Linked DNA regions of Homo sapiens: regions 2, 3, 4 and 5 are each linked to region 1. The links are contacts of gene promoters, found by promoter capture Hi-C in human tissues and cell types (Jung and others, 2019). All regions are on one chromosome and are shown on one strand. Each heading gives the region's core, a stretch centred on a gene start or on the middle of the fragment in contact. The rest is flanking DNA. Distances are from core to core; before and after follow the strand shown.

Region 1 (2,979 bases), core at 287-2,786:
TCCCATCCCACCTTGCACCTCCAGGACGCCCTGGACCCGCCCATCCTCCTGCCCCACTAGCTCATCGACTTACGACTCCCTCAGTCCCTACGGCCCACGGAACCCTCTCCCCAACCCGCGCCACAGCCCGAGCGGCGGCGGCGGCCTTAAGAAGCCCGCAGTCCCGCCCGCGCCGCCCCGCCGGGGCCGGAGGTTGGAGCCGGGAGCACGGCCGCGAATCCCCGCACGTCCCCAGCGCTCCGCGACACCGGGCCCTGCTCGCTGCAACTCGGGGACGGCCTGCGTCTCGCCTCCACCCTGGCCGCGGGCCCCTCGAGCTTGTTTGCTTGTCCTCAGTCCCAGGGCCAGCCCCGCTCCCTCCTCCCGGCTGCTCCAACAGCCGTTTGCTTCCTGCGGTGTGTTTCTTTTTTCCCCTTCCTAGACTCCATCAAAGGTGGCTCTGTTATTGAAATATGAAGCCATTTCCTCTCCAAAACCCTTGGTTACTCAAGGCGGGAATCAATGGACCTATATACTCTCCCAGAAGTTATAAATAAACGTCTATTTGTTCAGGAGGCGTTTTCCCGCGTGTCCCAGCATCTTCCCCACTGGTTATTTCAGGGGTGTGTGTGTCTGTGTGTGTGTGTGTGTGTGTGTGTGTGTGTGTGTGTGCGCGCGCGCGCCCTGTGCCCATCTGGTTCTAATCCTGGTTATGGATCCACAACCCAACCCCACCCATCCCGTCTCCCCCTCGCATTCCTCGTTCTATAAATAAATCCAGGTTCTTTGAGCTCTGTCATCCAAGGATACAATAGCAGTTGTTTGTTAAGAGAAATTTAAACTCAACACCAATACTGAGTCCAGTAAACCAGAAAATATGCTTCTGGTGATTTGGGTGGAAGGCCATCTCCAGTTTAAGAAGCTTTATGTGCCACTATCATCATTGTCTGTTATCCTTGATCTCCTTTGGTGAGGGGAAGGCGGGAAAGAGAGGACCTCTCCGACCCTTGGATTTTTCTTTTAAGCAGAGGCTAATAAAACAAAGCGCAAACTGACTGTCCTGAGGAGTCTGCTCACACCGCTGCCCCGCAGATCATTCCACAGACCCCTTGTCCCATCCCTTCTGGACAGACCCAGGACTGATGAGGGTTCGGGTTCGGGAGGTGTGGTGTGGTGGGGGCTTGTGTGGCTGTAGCGGCCGGCTTTCCTAAACCCCAGAGCGGGATACTCGGGATCTGAGCAGAGGGGAAAGTCATCTAAGAGGCTGCTGCTTTACAAGGTCTGGGCACAGAGCTGCCCCTCCCTTCCTCCCTGAAGTTTGCATGAAGTGCACATTAGGCTGTAATTAGGGGATTTGGGAGGAGAACTTTCCTGGTGACGCTTTGCTTTTCTTCTGCTCTTGGTGAGAAAGTGCCTCCTTCTTCCCAGGATCAGGACCTCTGCCATCCAGCGCCACAAAGAGACATTCTGCACACACACTCACACACGCACACACACACACACTCTCACACTCGCCCAGAGACAAACTTAAGGTGAGGAGAAAGAGCGCTAGCTTCACTTGATCTCCAGCTTCCAACTTAAGCAGAACTTGAGAGCATCCGAACTCCTGGATTTCAGGACAAGGTAAAACTTGCAAATTGTTTCCCCCTCTTTTGGTTATACCTTTGTGCCTTTAAGATTTCAGAGGGCAATACACATGCAATGTATATATACATTAAACAAATTTTATTCTTTTCTTTTGAGTTTAGTTTTCATTTGAATTTAATATGACACCTCAACTTTTAAAAAAGTTTCATATTGTCGGATAAAATATTTCACTACAATAAACAGGCTCAGTCTAAAAATGGAGAAAGAATTAACTCTAGTATCTTAGCTTCTGCTAGTGCTCCTGTAAATCTGGTAGGGTCATGGTTTCCAAGTGGTGACTTTTCTATCTGTATCTCAACAACCATTTTTATAGCACCTGAGATGAAACAAGGATAGTATAGGCTGAAGGGAAAGGTGAGGAATGGGAATGTCCAGCCAGGCTTATGAATTTTGTTTCAGAGAATATATAGGGTTATGTGAAAAAGAAAGTTACTTTAGGCATAGGTAATACCTGTTAGATTAATAATCTTAGAAATGTTGCCATTTTTGGCCCAGGCTTCCTTCTCCAGCTAATTATGAACTTAAGATCATAGAATGATGATGCATTTCATATATACAATGATGTTGATGGATAATTTGAATGCACTGAAGAGAATTTATAGTCATAGTTAAGATTACTGTTAAAAGTTGCTTAAAGAAATTATTTGTATGTTGAGACTGTTCCCCACCAAAAACAAACCTAAACTTGTTTGGGCTTCGATTAAGTAGTTTTCTTCCATTGAATGTGACTGTTGTGTTCAAAATAAGATGGCTTATTAATTTGAGAATAAGTTGCTTTATTTTCATTTATCACTGGAAAAATACACACAGTGGCCAGTACATTTGGGAATTTTTAGGGTGGAAAGTGTTCCTGTACATGTTCCAGTGTGATGTCATAAAATCAAACATACTGGCTGGCTTCTTGGAAGCTAATAGTTCTTAAGAAATTAAGGCTGTGGATTGATTTCTAAATGAATGTAATATTTATTCATTACAATTGTAGTTTCTGGTAACTATTTCTATGTGATTATTTCTGTGTACTAAATTTGCAGAGATTTTATACACATTTCAGTCATTTCAGTATTTTAATGGAATGGGAATATTGTTCTATCAAAAGTATATCATAGTAGTTATCTTTGGAGAATTTTTAATGTGATATGATTCATAATTCTTATATCAGTTAACAAATTCCATTTACCTACAAAAATGAAAGTTTCTCTTCCATTCAGTAAAATATAATGTATACCAAAGGACTCTTCAGATATTAGCTTTAGTCTTTAGTCACTTTTATACCACCCATTTTAAAAAATTTAATTGTTTCAGCTAAGAAATGAATTTATACTTTTGTTGATGACCTCTTCCACTAAATTGGAA
Region 2 (2,933 bases), core at 301-2,800, 1.1 Mb before region 1:
TACCAGCCTGGCCAACATAGCAAACTCCATCTCTACTAAAAATACAAAAAATTAGTTGGGTGTGGTGGCGAATGCCTGTAATCCCAGCTACTCAGGAGGCTGAGGCATGAGAATCGTTTGAACTCAAGAGATGGGGGTTGCAGTCAGCCAAGATCCCTCCACTGCACTCCAGCCTGGGTGACAGAGTGAGACTGTCAAAAAATGAAAGGAGAGAAGGGGAGGGAAGGGGGAGGGGAGGGGAGGGGAAGCAAAAGATTGAAGCTTTAAAACTAATTATAGGCCGGGTGCGGTAAGTCACATCTGTAATCCCAGAATTTTGGGAGGCTGAGGCAGGCGGGATCACTTGAGGTCAAGAGTTTGAGACCTGCCTGGACAGCATGGGGAAACCCAATCTCTACTAAAAATACAAAAATCAGTGGGCGGTGATGGCATGCACCTGTAGTCCCAGCTACTCTGGAGCCTGAGGCCAGAGAATCGCTTGAACCCAGGAGGCAGCGGAGGCTGCAGTGAACTGAGATCACACCACTGCATTCCAGCCTGGGCGACAGACTGGAGAGAGAGATTCCATTTCAAAAATAAATAAACACATACATAAATAAAAATAAAACAAAACAGTTATTAATGTATCTCTCAATCTCAGAAATAACATATTTGCTTATTGTTATATGTTTTTTACATATTTATATATCACATATATATTTATACATCACTACATATTAATATTCAAACATGCTTATTGTGTGTTCATGTTTAGGAAGAACAGAGTTTTATCTGATAACAAATGCCATTTAGTTTGAATAATATTTATATTGTTAACTTGTTAACAAAATTCAAATATCTCACAGTTTAATATTTCCAGAAAAAAAAAAGTGAGGAAATCCCTGGTATATCAACGAGCATAAATCTGAGATGAGGCAATAACTAAATGATTTTGCTTGTTTATATTGCAGCCCAAACCAGATAGCCTTTTATAGACACTATCATACTAAAAGCTCCTGTAAAATCGTTGAAGCTTTGCTTAGGAAGAACTGAGTAGAGGGAGTGTTAAAATCACAGCAGGAGATTCAACTCAGTCCAGTTTATCCTGTTGCTTTAAAAATGGCATTGATCTTATGCAGCAGATGTGGCACTTGGTTATTCTGGGCTTCTGCACTATCAAAAGCTTCTGTGACTTTAATGAAAACTTTATCTTTACACATTGGAAGCTCTAATGTGATTGAGCCTGCCTGTCTTTCTGATGCCTTTACTGTCACCAGAGTTCCTGGCCCTTCCCACTTTTGCGGCTTCTACTCCTACTTTGCATTTTTTTTTTATTTCTTCCTTAAGTCATTCAGAGTCTTCAGTGTTCTCTTTCACTGTGCATTTTAGCTATCGTGCCTACTTTCCCTGGTTCCTCTACTTAAAGATTCCTTAAGCAAAGACTTTTATACCTAGCACTTGAAAGTAAGGAATAAAGCACAGCCAACAATGAGATGTATGATTCACTGTTGCACAATCTCAAGTTAGTATGGTTCCTCTCAGAGACAACTGCAAAGACATATATTTAGGTTTTACTCCTTCTTCCATTATGCATCTTCATTTTCCCTAGCTTTGACCTCCAAGTCCAAGAGCTCATGCTTCTTTCTCAGGAAAGATGTTGCACCTGGGTCATCTTTGAAGCCTTTCCATCTTCCAGAATGAGCTAATCTATGTCATATTTATCCAGGATTCTGCTTTGTAAACAACCAGCTAATGGGGTAAAATAACTTGAACATGTGTGACCAAATAGCTTAATGTGTTAAACTACCCAGCTTACATTTGTACAGGTGACCTCTAAAAAGAGTTTCAGTTCCTAAAAGCAAGTAATCAAATTGCCAACCTGTGTATATTTTCAGAAGATTATGATAAAGTGATGATTTCCCTCACTATTCCCCTTCCCTCTCCATCCTCACCTCTTCCTCTTTCCCTCTAAAGCAACCTGGCAGATTCAAACTCTTCTCTAACTCTCTGCTGAATCTAAATGTCAAACACCCGCAGGCACATCATAAGTGTTATTTTAGCCTTTTGCATTACCTTTGGTAGCACTTATCTCACTCTTTAGCAATTATTTGAGTGCATTTCTGCCTCCACCACCACATGATTTTGAGCTCTAAAAAAGCACAAAAAGTTCTCTCACTAGCACAAGTAAATATTAAAATACTGTTAGTTAAATAAAGGAATGAATAAATGAATGCTCAAGTGAATGAATGAGGATAGAAATTCAGCTGGAGGATAAGAATCTGTTAAAGTGATTATTTATTTTTATCATTTGGTCAAGTTATGTAATCTTTAATGTCAACTTTATCACCTGTAAAATGGATATTAAAGATGATGTGAGAATCAAATGTGATTATGTCTGTAAAAACCCAGTGTAAAGTAAAAAACACAATGCAAATATTATGTTACTACTTCACAGACAGATTCTCCTGGCAGTTATTTAGCTGTTGTTCATATATTATTACTGATTTTGTATTTTTTCCAGATGTCTACCATGACAGATTGCATGTTGGTTCCCCATTAGTGACACCCTCTTCTTTGTAGGACTATACACCTCCATATATTGCCATGTGACAAGCAGTGCCTTCCTTGTCACCCCACACCACTGACAAAAGGTTTGGATGAGTGACTTGCCACAGCCAATGAAATGCGAGCAGAAGTGACAGTGTGCCCTTTTCCAATAGCAGCTTTAAGAGCCATTATATCCTTTTGCTGCCTTCTTGATCTTTCTGCTCTGCATAGGAACAACCTATTCCATTGGGAGCTGCTCCTTTAGCCCAGATCCTGGAATAAGGAAAAAACAAAGAGCAGCCGAGCAACCACCACTGACCCCTGCATTTAACATGAGCAAAAAGTAAACCCTTTTACTCTCAGCCATGTTGACACTATAATTAATCAACCAGACTAATTAATTATAG
Region 3 (3,073 bases), core at 508-3,007, 1.4 Mb before region 1:
CTGGGCATGTTGAAGCAAGCATGTGGTCCCAGTTACTTAGGAGGCTGAAGCAGGAGGATCTCTTGAGCCTGGGAGGTCAAAGCTACAGTGAGCTATGATCATGCCGCTGAATTCCAACCTGGGTGACACAGTGAGGACATGTCTCAGAAATAAAGAATTTTTTAATTAGAAGGCTTTGTAATTAACCATTTAGTAAGTTTTAGAAGAGAAAATTTTAAGTTCAGATCAGCCAAATATCACCTCAAGGCCTGCCGTGAAACATACAGGACTCACATAGAAACATTTAGGAATATTCATCGGGAAAATTGGAGCCAAGGTCTAATTGTAAAAGCAGAAGGATGTAAAGAATGCTAGAATTACAGCTTTGTCAGGTTATTTATGTCATACGTAGGACTTGGACATTTTTAAAAGTAGGATGCCAAGAACTGGGATTAGGTGGAGAGTTTGGTGGGCCTCTGTAATTCTCAACACCTACCACTAAGAAAGAGAGCACACTGTAAGACCCATACAGATTGGAGGCACCATATTTCATACCTGGAAATATATTTCTGATATAATATTAGAGTAGTCTGCAGACTTCAAGTTAGGACCTAAGATTATAAGAGGGCTTAGCTGCAATTACAAGCTATAGTGCAAGTTTCTTGACAACTTAGGTCATATTATCCAGCAAACCTGATGGAGCTAAAATAATAAGTGGCAAATAATAATGCTGTATGGAATATCTGGTAGTCTGCATGAAATTCTCTTCCTAGTTTCCCGGAATTCTGATCATCATGCCACACACACACACACACACACACACACACACAAAACATTTTCAGCTTTCAAAAATAATTTATTCTAGAGCCCTTAGAGTGACTGAAGGCCTGAACAAAGAATATAGAACTGCTCATAATGAGTTTCATATTATCAGATTCGTTGAGTCATAAGGCCAGGCGGGCACAGCAGCTAAACACTCCAAAGTGGAAACATACACTCAAGTATAGGCTACGGCAGAGCCAAGTTAATTAGTTAATTAATAAAATTTTTGGCGTTCCCTTGACTCTTTCTTCTATTGTACCACAGCCTCTCCCTCAGCTTATACTTAGGTGTTAAGGGGAGTTCCCTATGAGCAACTGGCAGAGGGGGAAAAACCTCAAGCTTGAATCACAGGCTGCCAGTGTAATATGTTGGTATTAGCTATAAACTTGTAAGCGATCTTAAATCACTGAGATAAAGGAGAGGAATGGCAGACCTCCAAAGAGTACAATTTAAAGGGAAAAGCAGCCTGAAGAACAGACACATAAATACCTTACCAGCTGTGAATGACTGTTGGTTGGTTAGGCATCTGGAAGGAGCAATCCTGGAAGATCAGAGACAAAGTAGTCTGGGGCAGTTGAATGTGCATAGACCTATGGGAGTAAACCAGGTTGTGCAGATCTTTTGGTGTCGTGTTAATGCCCATCAGAAATTAGCCACAGGAGATACTCAACAACCAAGTAGATTTCACCCAGCCTCTCTTCTCAAGAACTCCAGTCAGGGCAAAATGAGCACTGAACAGATGGCTTTGGAGGAGTGTATGAAAGCTCTTTTGGGTATCCATATTATGGGCCCTCTACTCCTGACCACTTATTCCACGTCTACCACTGCTGAATATCTAACTTTCTCAAAGCAGAAATCAACTCTGTGCTCTTAATGTGTTACTATCAAATATATGACTGTTTATTTCATCAGATCCTTTTCACCCTCTATGGACCACAACACATCCTTACTGGAATTGACATATACTCTGGCAATGTGATTTTTTTTTCTGTCTGCAATGCTTTTACCTTCACCATCATCCAAGGAATTAAGAAAGACATAATATTTTGCACAACATTGCCTCAGAAAAAGGAACGTGTTTTACAGGGCCTGGTTATTGTCCCATTTGTAATATAAGGGAGTTTGTCTTAATAGAACCATGAAATGCCCTAAACACTGGCTCAGAGACATTTCTTTTGCTCTAAAAGTTTTACTTCTGAGTCTAAGACCAAGGAAATAATATCAAATACAAGAAATTATCTTAAAAGTGTTATTTGAAATAGTGGAACTATTTACGTGCATTGAGGCTATAAAGTGACAGATAAGTAATTTGTAATTTTATGATTAAAATGTATTTATGATTATATGTCATCACAGGATTATATGATTAAAACTGAATTAGGCTATGCCTAGAAAAATTTGAAACTGATATTCTGAAATATGAATCATGCTTGTGACTGAGTGGTGTTTTTTTATTTATATTTTGTTATTATCCAAATTGTCTTTAATATGTAAACATTATAATATAAATAAGTACACCAAAAATGAAGAGAGTTAATTACTATGTCACTAGAAAAAGGGAAATAGGCACAATCTGTCCAATTTTTTTGTATAGGTTTGATTTGATTTGCTTGTTCTTTCTTAAGTATTTATAATGTGATGACCATCATAGCACAAGGTCTTCTGTATAAAAAAGGCTTAAGGATACAGAAGGGAGAAAAATCTATCAATGGCACATGGTAAAGAAGTCTCTAAAGTAGAGGTAAATAATATATTTCCTCATGCTAAAAATGAAAATATTTTCCAGAGAAACATCAAAGAACATCAATAGCTATATAACCTGAGGTTAATCGTAGTCTTGATTTTATCATGACTTCAGGAAATTATTAATAAATAAGGCTTTTCAGAGACTAGATATACAGAGAGGTTTATTGGCCTCATGAAGAAATATAAAGAAACAGCATGTAGTTTTCTGTCACATTCCATGTAGTTAAGTTTGTATAATCCTAAAAGGGAAGAAAAAAACAGGCTCTATTCTCTCAATATTTTGAAAAAAAAAATTAAAGAAATATGCAAGCAGCTTAACCAAAAATTATTAGTTATTTGAGCCCTACTTACTGTGAGTGAAATAGATCTGTGCTAATAAGTGTTCCTTCATGAGGGGTCTGCCCTTCCTTCCTGGAATAAATATGAAAAGCTTTGTAATATATTTCTTCAAGCATCTATTTTTATAAAGAATTCTGCTATGCTACTACCAATAATGAATTGCCCTCTAGGTTAGATAAGAATCCTT
Region 4 (3,015 bases), core at 8-2,507, 1.3 Mb before region 1:
TCTTGGTCATAGTTATTAATGTAAAATCAACTTACCTCTTAGGGATATTGAGTGAGTAAAATCAAAATCATAAGTGAGTAGCAAAAGGCACATGGGTTCCAATGCCACCAAGATATAACAGATCAACAATCAGAGTTTTTACCACAATCATATGTAATTATTTATCTTTTTAAAGTTTAGAATTCAGAATTCTGATAGTAAAGAAGTTCTAAAAAGAAATATCAATTTTTTAAAATATGTAATAGCTGCTGTATTATTTTTATATCATTCTTAAAAAAGATAAAATCACAAGAGCTAGTCAACTTCAATGAAATACCAGAATAAAGAAAATGTTATATACTATCAAAAATGCATGAAGAGTGTCGGAAATGATGGTTTCTTTGCATCTATTCAGCTATATAGGCAAAGATCCTTTAACAGATTCTGAAGAGGTTGATTTAACTCTCAAAACTAAATACAGATTGAGCACCTTTAAACTGAAAATCCAAAGTTTGGTATTCTCCAAAATTTGAAACATTTTGAATGTCTACATGACGGCACAGGTAGAAAATTCTACATCTGATACCTTTGTTTTCTGATGATTCAATGTTCAAAAACCATGTTCATGCATAAAGTAATTAAAATATTGTACAAAATTACCTTCAGGCTATGTATATAAGGTGTACATAAAAACATAAATGAATTTCTTCTTTAGACTTGGCCTTATCCCCATATCTCATTTTGTATATGCAAATATTCTAAAATATAACAAAATCCAAAATGCTTCTAGTCCCCAACATTTCAGATAAATGATACTCAACCTGTATAATTTGTATTCACTTTTGAAATGGGCTTTCACTTTAATTTTGAAAATGACTAAGACATTCAGGAAAACATGACTTTTGCAATTTGTCGACTGAACTGTGGAGTGATTATCTTATTGCTCACTCCCCCCACAGCAACCACTCTTCTCCTTGTCCGTGTAGAGCAACTACAAAATCTGGTTAGTATGTGATGTATTCTGAGTGGAGATAACATATTGTAGTGTTTTGACCTTTTCAATATTCTACACTTCAATTGGCTGTCCATTCTATATCCTCCCTACAGGTTAGTGGGACAGAAAGCAAGGGAAAAATGCAATGAGTAGCCAATCAAATCATAGAACATTGAAAAGGTCAAAGCTGTATATTAGAAGACTGTAATCGACAGAATGTATGAGACATTAAAATTCTACCACCTCATTCTTATGGCAAAGACTATAATGAAACAGAAAATGGCACTATATAAATCTGTTCATATGACAATCATTGTTCTGAGAACTGAGAACATAACACATTCCAATTATAATTTTAAAAATTGCATTATTTTGGCATCCCACAGATTTTGTAGTGTAGTTAAATTACACATAGTCAGCAGAACTAGTTATCTAACAGTATATATTCAGTCTAACACAGAATGACATATTAATATTACATTAAATGGCTCTACATTTATAAAAATCTAAAGAGACATCCCTAAAATAAAGAACTAAAGAATACTTTTTCTCTTATACAGGACTCACTAAACTTACTTGAAGAGCTTATGGAAATTGTTTTTTGTTTTAAAAGAGAGAAGTAATATGAGAGAGTTTTTTCCATTTAGACAAAAGCAATCTTAATTGATGATTTTTTTTAAAAGACTCAGAGGTCCCTGAAATAAAGCTATACAGCCTGAAGCAGGAAATACATTTGGCATCTGGTTGCTAGATGATAATTAAGAAAGACAGGTTCAGTCAGAGCACTGACCCAGAAGCCACAATTTAAGTGTCAATGAATAGAGTCAATATTCCCTTGACCACTCACATCTAGAGGAGATCATCTGAAAAAGAAAGAGAGTGGGGGTAAAACAGACTTACAGGATTTCAACAAATGATTTTGTAATGAATCTTGGCATAATTCAGAGGGAATAAATAAAAAGCTTACAATGAATTGTTACAGAACATGACATTTTAATACCCATATTTGCTGTCAAATTTTAAAAAGTGATCATGCTTATGATAAATACACAGCCATTAATATTAATAACAGCTGGTGTATAAATGCCTATGGAAAGGGATCAATGTGTTTATAATTTGTTTTTGGCTGTTATTTTATTTACAATTTTAATAAGTTTGATAGAGTTTTTGGAAGAAAAATAAAAAGCTAAATATGTACATTTTAAATTTCCTACCAATACCTTTTTATTTTAACTCTATAGATGAATGAAGAAGTCGAAAAATTATTTCCTTTTTTTAGGAAAATAGAACAGTTGTTTCCAAGCTTTTAGTGTCTTAACCAGAATGATATCAAGAATTTGTATTAAAAGTCTTTCAGCTCAACTTTAAGTAGGAAATGCACATGTGAATTAAAAAAAAACTTAGGCACCAGCATTTCTCTCCATGAGCAAACAGGTATAAATTTCTATCAGATTTTTCAGACATTGAATATGCCTAATTTTAAACTATGAAATGAGACTTATTTTCTAATAATACCAACTGTATTTTTAAAAAAATTTTTGGCAATCACAAAGTGGGTCTGCAATGAAATTCACTTAGCTTTTGGGGTACTGTTTCCACTGATTTCAGAGTTCTGGGAAACTCAGTCAATTTTTATTTATCTTATGATTGCTAAGCATTGTTTAAGACTGCACCCATTCCCTATTGCATTTACAGCCGTCTAAGCACAAACATAGCAGTGGTAGTTACAAATTGCCCTGACTTTGGAGAAAGGGAATCTTGTCTGAGTGTCATCCTCTGTCCTCCCGAGCAGCAGAAGTTTTTGGAGTAATACTTTGAGTTGACTTTTGTGGCTTTTGCAACATATTAGTATACACTTTCTATAACCCCTCTTCATGAAATCCAAATAATTTGTTTACTTCTTGTCTAAACCCTACGCTCTTTGGATCCAACAACATGCTTACAGTCTCTTTGACTAAATAGGTGACAGTGGGGATGCAGCTCAAGGATGATTTTTGGAAAATTTTCTGTAACATTTAAATTATCTCTAAAATTTTCTCTAA
Region 5 (2,700 bases), core at 130-2,629, 1.3 Mb before region 1:
TTTCAAAATAAAATTTTCAATAACACAAAATCAATTTTACATTTTAAAAACTTGAAAATATTGCTGTGCTAGAGTAAAATGAATATGTAAAGTGAAAGAAAGAATATTCTTTTCTGGAAAGAAACCAAGTACAATATCAGCATTGTCCCAGTGGTACTTATAAACAGAAATAGAATATGTTTTTGAGTGGCATCCTTAGCCAGGGGAACACTTCATGATCAAGTAAGAAAAAGCAAGCATTAGATTTATTTTTAAAATATAAGCTCTGTAAATATAATTCTCTTATCTGCTGGAAGGAAAAGAAAATTGTTGTATTGTCAGATCTCAAAACTGGGCTTTCTGAATATATATTCCCTTCCATTTCTTACCCCACATAAATTATACTAACATTTTATAATCACTTTCATTTTATAAGACACTAGTTTGATTAACATGCTCTGGCCACAGCTGCAAATACTGGAAGCTTCATAGCGCTATTAGAATAACATACCAGGGTTCCTGAGTTATATACTTGAGATAATTAAATCTAACAGTATATGAGCTTGATGGTCATTGAAATATATGAACTAAAGCTGTCCAGTGTTGAATTGCAGTATCCAATTTCAATAGGACATTTTATTTCTTTATTTTTTCAGCCAGCATTGTTCAGCATGTTTAAAAAACTTAATAGTAAATCTCTACTACAGATTTGCATTTAATTTTATACACACATTCATTGTACTTGAAAAAAAAAACATCAAGCAAAGTAGCAATACATTTTTCTTGTTTCCGGAATTTGGGAAACTTGCAAGAATTTGATGTAGGTCACATTTTGAGTTGTTCTCTTCAGTGTCTTATGCAGTTTGTATCATTAAATGCAAATAACATCTCTTGTGTCACGTCAATAACCATAAGTATTAATTAACTTTAGTCAGGTGACTTATAGAAAATAAGGTATGGCAGAGCAGCCTAATAATATTATTATAGAATTCTATCACAGGATTTTCAGCTTTTGCCTTGGGGTATAAAGATATGGAAGGAGTATCACCCCTACCCTTAAAATGAAATATGATTTTCTTAAAACTTATTGGATTGTGGAAGTTTTAGAACAATCAACTAACCAAAAAATTAAGGAAACATAGTACTGACAGGCAGAGTGGGGATGTACAAACTTGTGGCCTTTGGCTAGATTCACCTACACAGAGGTAAGAACGGCTCAGTTGAATAATTGATAAATTGCCCAAGACCAAGTGTGAGCCAGAAGAACATTTTGAAATTTTAGTGAGTCTCAAACTATGGGAGTCCATATCATCTTCCAGGTTCTTCCTGCACACTCACAGAAAAGATAGAACCTTAAGAAATACGCATTGTGATGCAAGCCTAAGAAAGAAGAATAGAAAAGTTTTATAGAAGAGGTAACAAAATCTGCCAGATTCTTCTTTCCTATCTATACTACTGAACAAAAGCCTTAAACTGTGGATGAAATGCTGTAAATACTGTACCCCCTAGGCCATTTGTGAAAACTCATGCAGCCGAGGAAAGGAAAATAAATAAAGCTTATTCCTGGAGTGGGATGAAATTATGCGTTGAGCTGAAAAGTGTAGCTGGAGAACAAAACGGCCACATTTCTGAAACCCAGAGACACATGCATACCTTAGATTTGGGCTTGATAATAACACCAAAGAAAGCACCACACTCCACCCTCAACTGCCAAGATAACATGATTTGGATAACCAGTAAAAGGAGAAAACTGCTGGTAGGGAGCAGACGGAACAAGAACAATCAAAAAGACCCACTTTGTGGCACAGTGCAGAGTAGATCTAAAACTTAAAAACAGTCATCATTCTAATAAACTAAGCTCCACCCTAAACAAAAGATAGTCCTACAGGAATTTGAAGGCTGTGGTCCATTGAGGCTAATTATAGCAACAACAAATCTACAATCCGGAATCTACAACCCAGACTAATTCCTAATTAGATGAACTCAAACATCTCCCTGCACTAAATGCCTAACAAAGGCATGTTTATTTCCAAAAATAAAAACTGTTTACCTCAATTTCCACTGTTCATACAAAATGACTAAATTTTAACATAAAAAATTACAAGATGTAAGAAGTCATGAAAAAGCACAGTCGTAAGAGACAAAGCAATCAAAACAAGAAACAAATAGGACACAGATGTTGGAATTGTCAGGGAATTCAGAATAACTATTATTAGTATGAAAAACATGCTAAAATTAGAGAACATGCCAGATCAGCTTTGTTGTGACTCCTCTCTTTCTGTGGTTGTAGAGCTTAGCTCCTTCTTGGAGTGAGGGACGTGCCTCCACAGCGCTCTTTCCCTCATCTATTTTTGGGAATCTACACAAGACTGTTACCTCTATTGAAAAGTAGGGATATGACTATTTAAAAACTGAAAATGACAGAGTTATTCTAGAATATTTAAACACTAAAAAGATGAAAAATAATGATCAAACCAAAGTTTATTTGGTGAATCCTCAGTAAGCATGAAACAATTTTCTATGAGAAACTTCAGTTCAGAGGATTGAGACACAAATTGTCATTACAGTCTTTTTTGAGGAGTGTGGGGGACTTATTAAATATATTCTGTAGTGTAAAGTGACTTTTAAGATAAAACATAGAGTAAAAATGAATATTATTTTGAAACCGCAAGGAATTATCACACGGAAATGAAGGGATAAATAAAACAGCAACAGAAATGA

What was found. The method cuts DNA at HindIII sites, captures the fragments that hold promoters and counts their contacts. A contact is called where the count stands out against the background at its distance.
Region 2: a contact is called between a fragment that was not itself captured here and the fragment with the promoter of HAPLN1 in region 1, in 1 of the 25 tissues and cell types used here (dorsolateral prefrontal cortex).
Region 3: a fragment that was not itself captured here is called in contact with the fragment with the promoter of HAPLN1 in region 1 in 1 of the 25 tissues and cell types used here (lymphoblastoid cells).
Region 4: a fragment that was not itself captured here is called in contact with the fragment with the promoter of HAPLN1 in region 1 in 1 of the 25 tissues and cell types used here (mesenchymal stem cells).
Region 5: a fragment that was not itself captured here is called in contact with the fragment with the promoter of HAPLN1 in region 1 in 1 of the 25 tissues and cell types used here (dorsolateral prefrontal cortex).

What each region holds. Positions count from the first base shown.
Region 1 is chr5:83,719,412-83,722,390 of GRCh38, reverse strand. HAPLN1 (hyaluronan and proteoglycan link protein 1) reads left to right here and starts at 1,536. Exons shown (of 5, transcript NM_001884.4): 1 at 1,536-1,602. The HindIII fragment of the contact is 27,926 bases long and covers 1-2,979 here.
Region 2 is chr5:84,815,494-84,818,426 of GRCh38, reverse strand. No RefSeq gene overlaps it. Among named protein-coding and RNA genes, the nearest start is that of EDIL3, 430 kb to the right of the region's middle. The HindIII fragment of the contact is 3,314 bases long and covers 1-2,933 here.
Region 3 is chr5:85,094,754-85,097,826 of GRCh38, reverse strand. No RefSeq gene overlaps it. Among named protein-coding and RNA genes, the nearest start is that of EDIL3, 710 kb to the right of the region's middle. The HindIII fragment of the contact is 4,884 bases long and covers 1-3,073 here.
Region 4 is chr5:85,029,253-85,032,267 of GRCh38, reverse strand. No RefSeq gene overlaps it. Among named protein-coding and RNA genes, the nearest start is that of EDIL3, 650 kb to the right of the region's middle. The HindIII fragment of the contact is 4,337 bases long and covers 1-3,015 here.
Region 5 is chr5:85,052,431-85,055,130 of GRCh38, reverse strand. No RefSeq gene overlaps it. Among named protein-coding and RNA genes, the nearest start is that of EDIL3, 670 kb to the right of the region's middle. The HindIII fragment of the contact is 3,308 bases long and covers 1-2,700 here.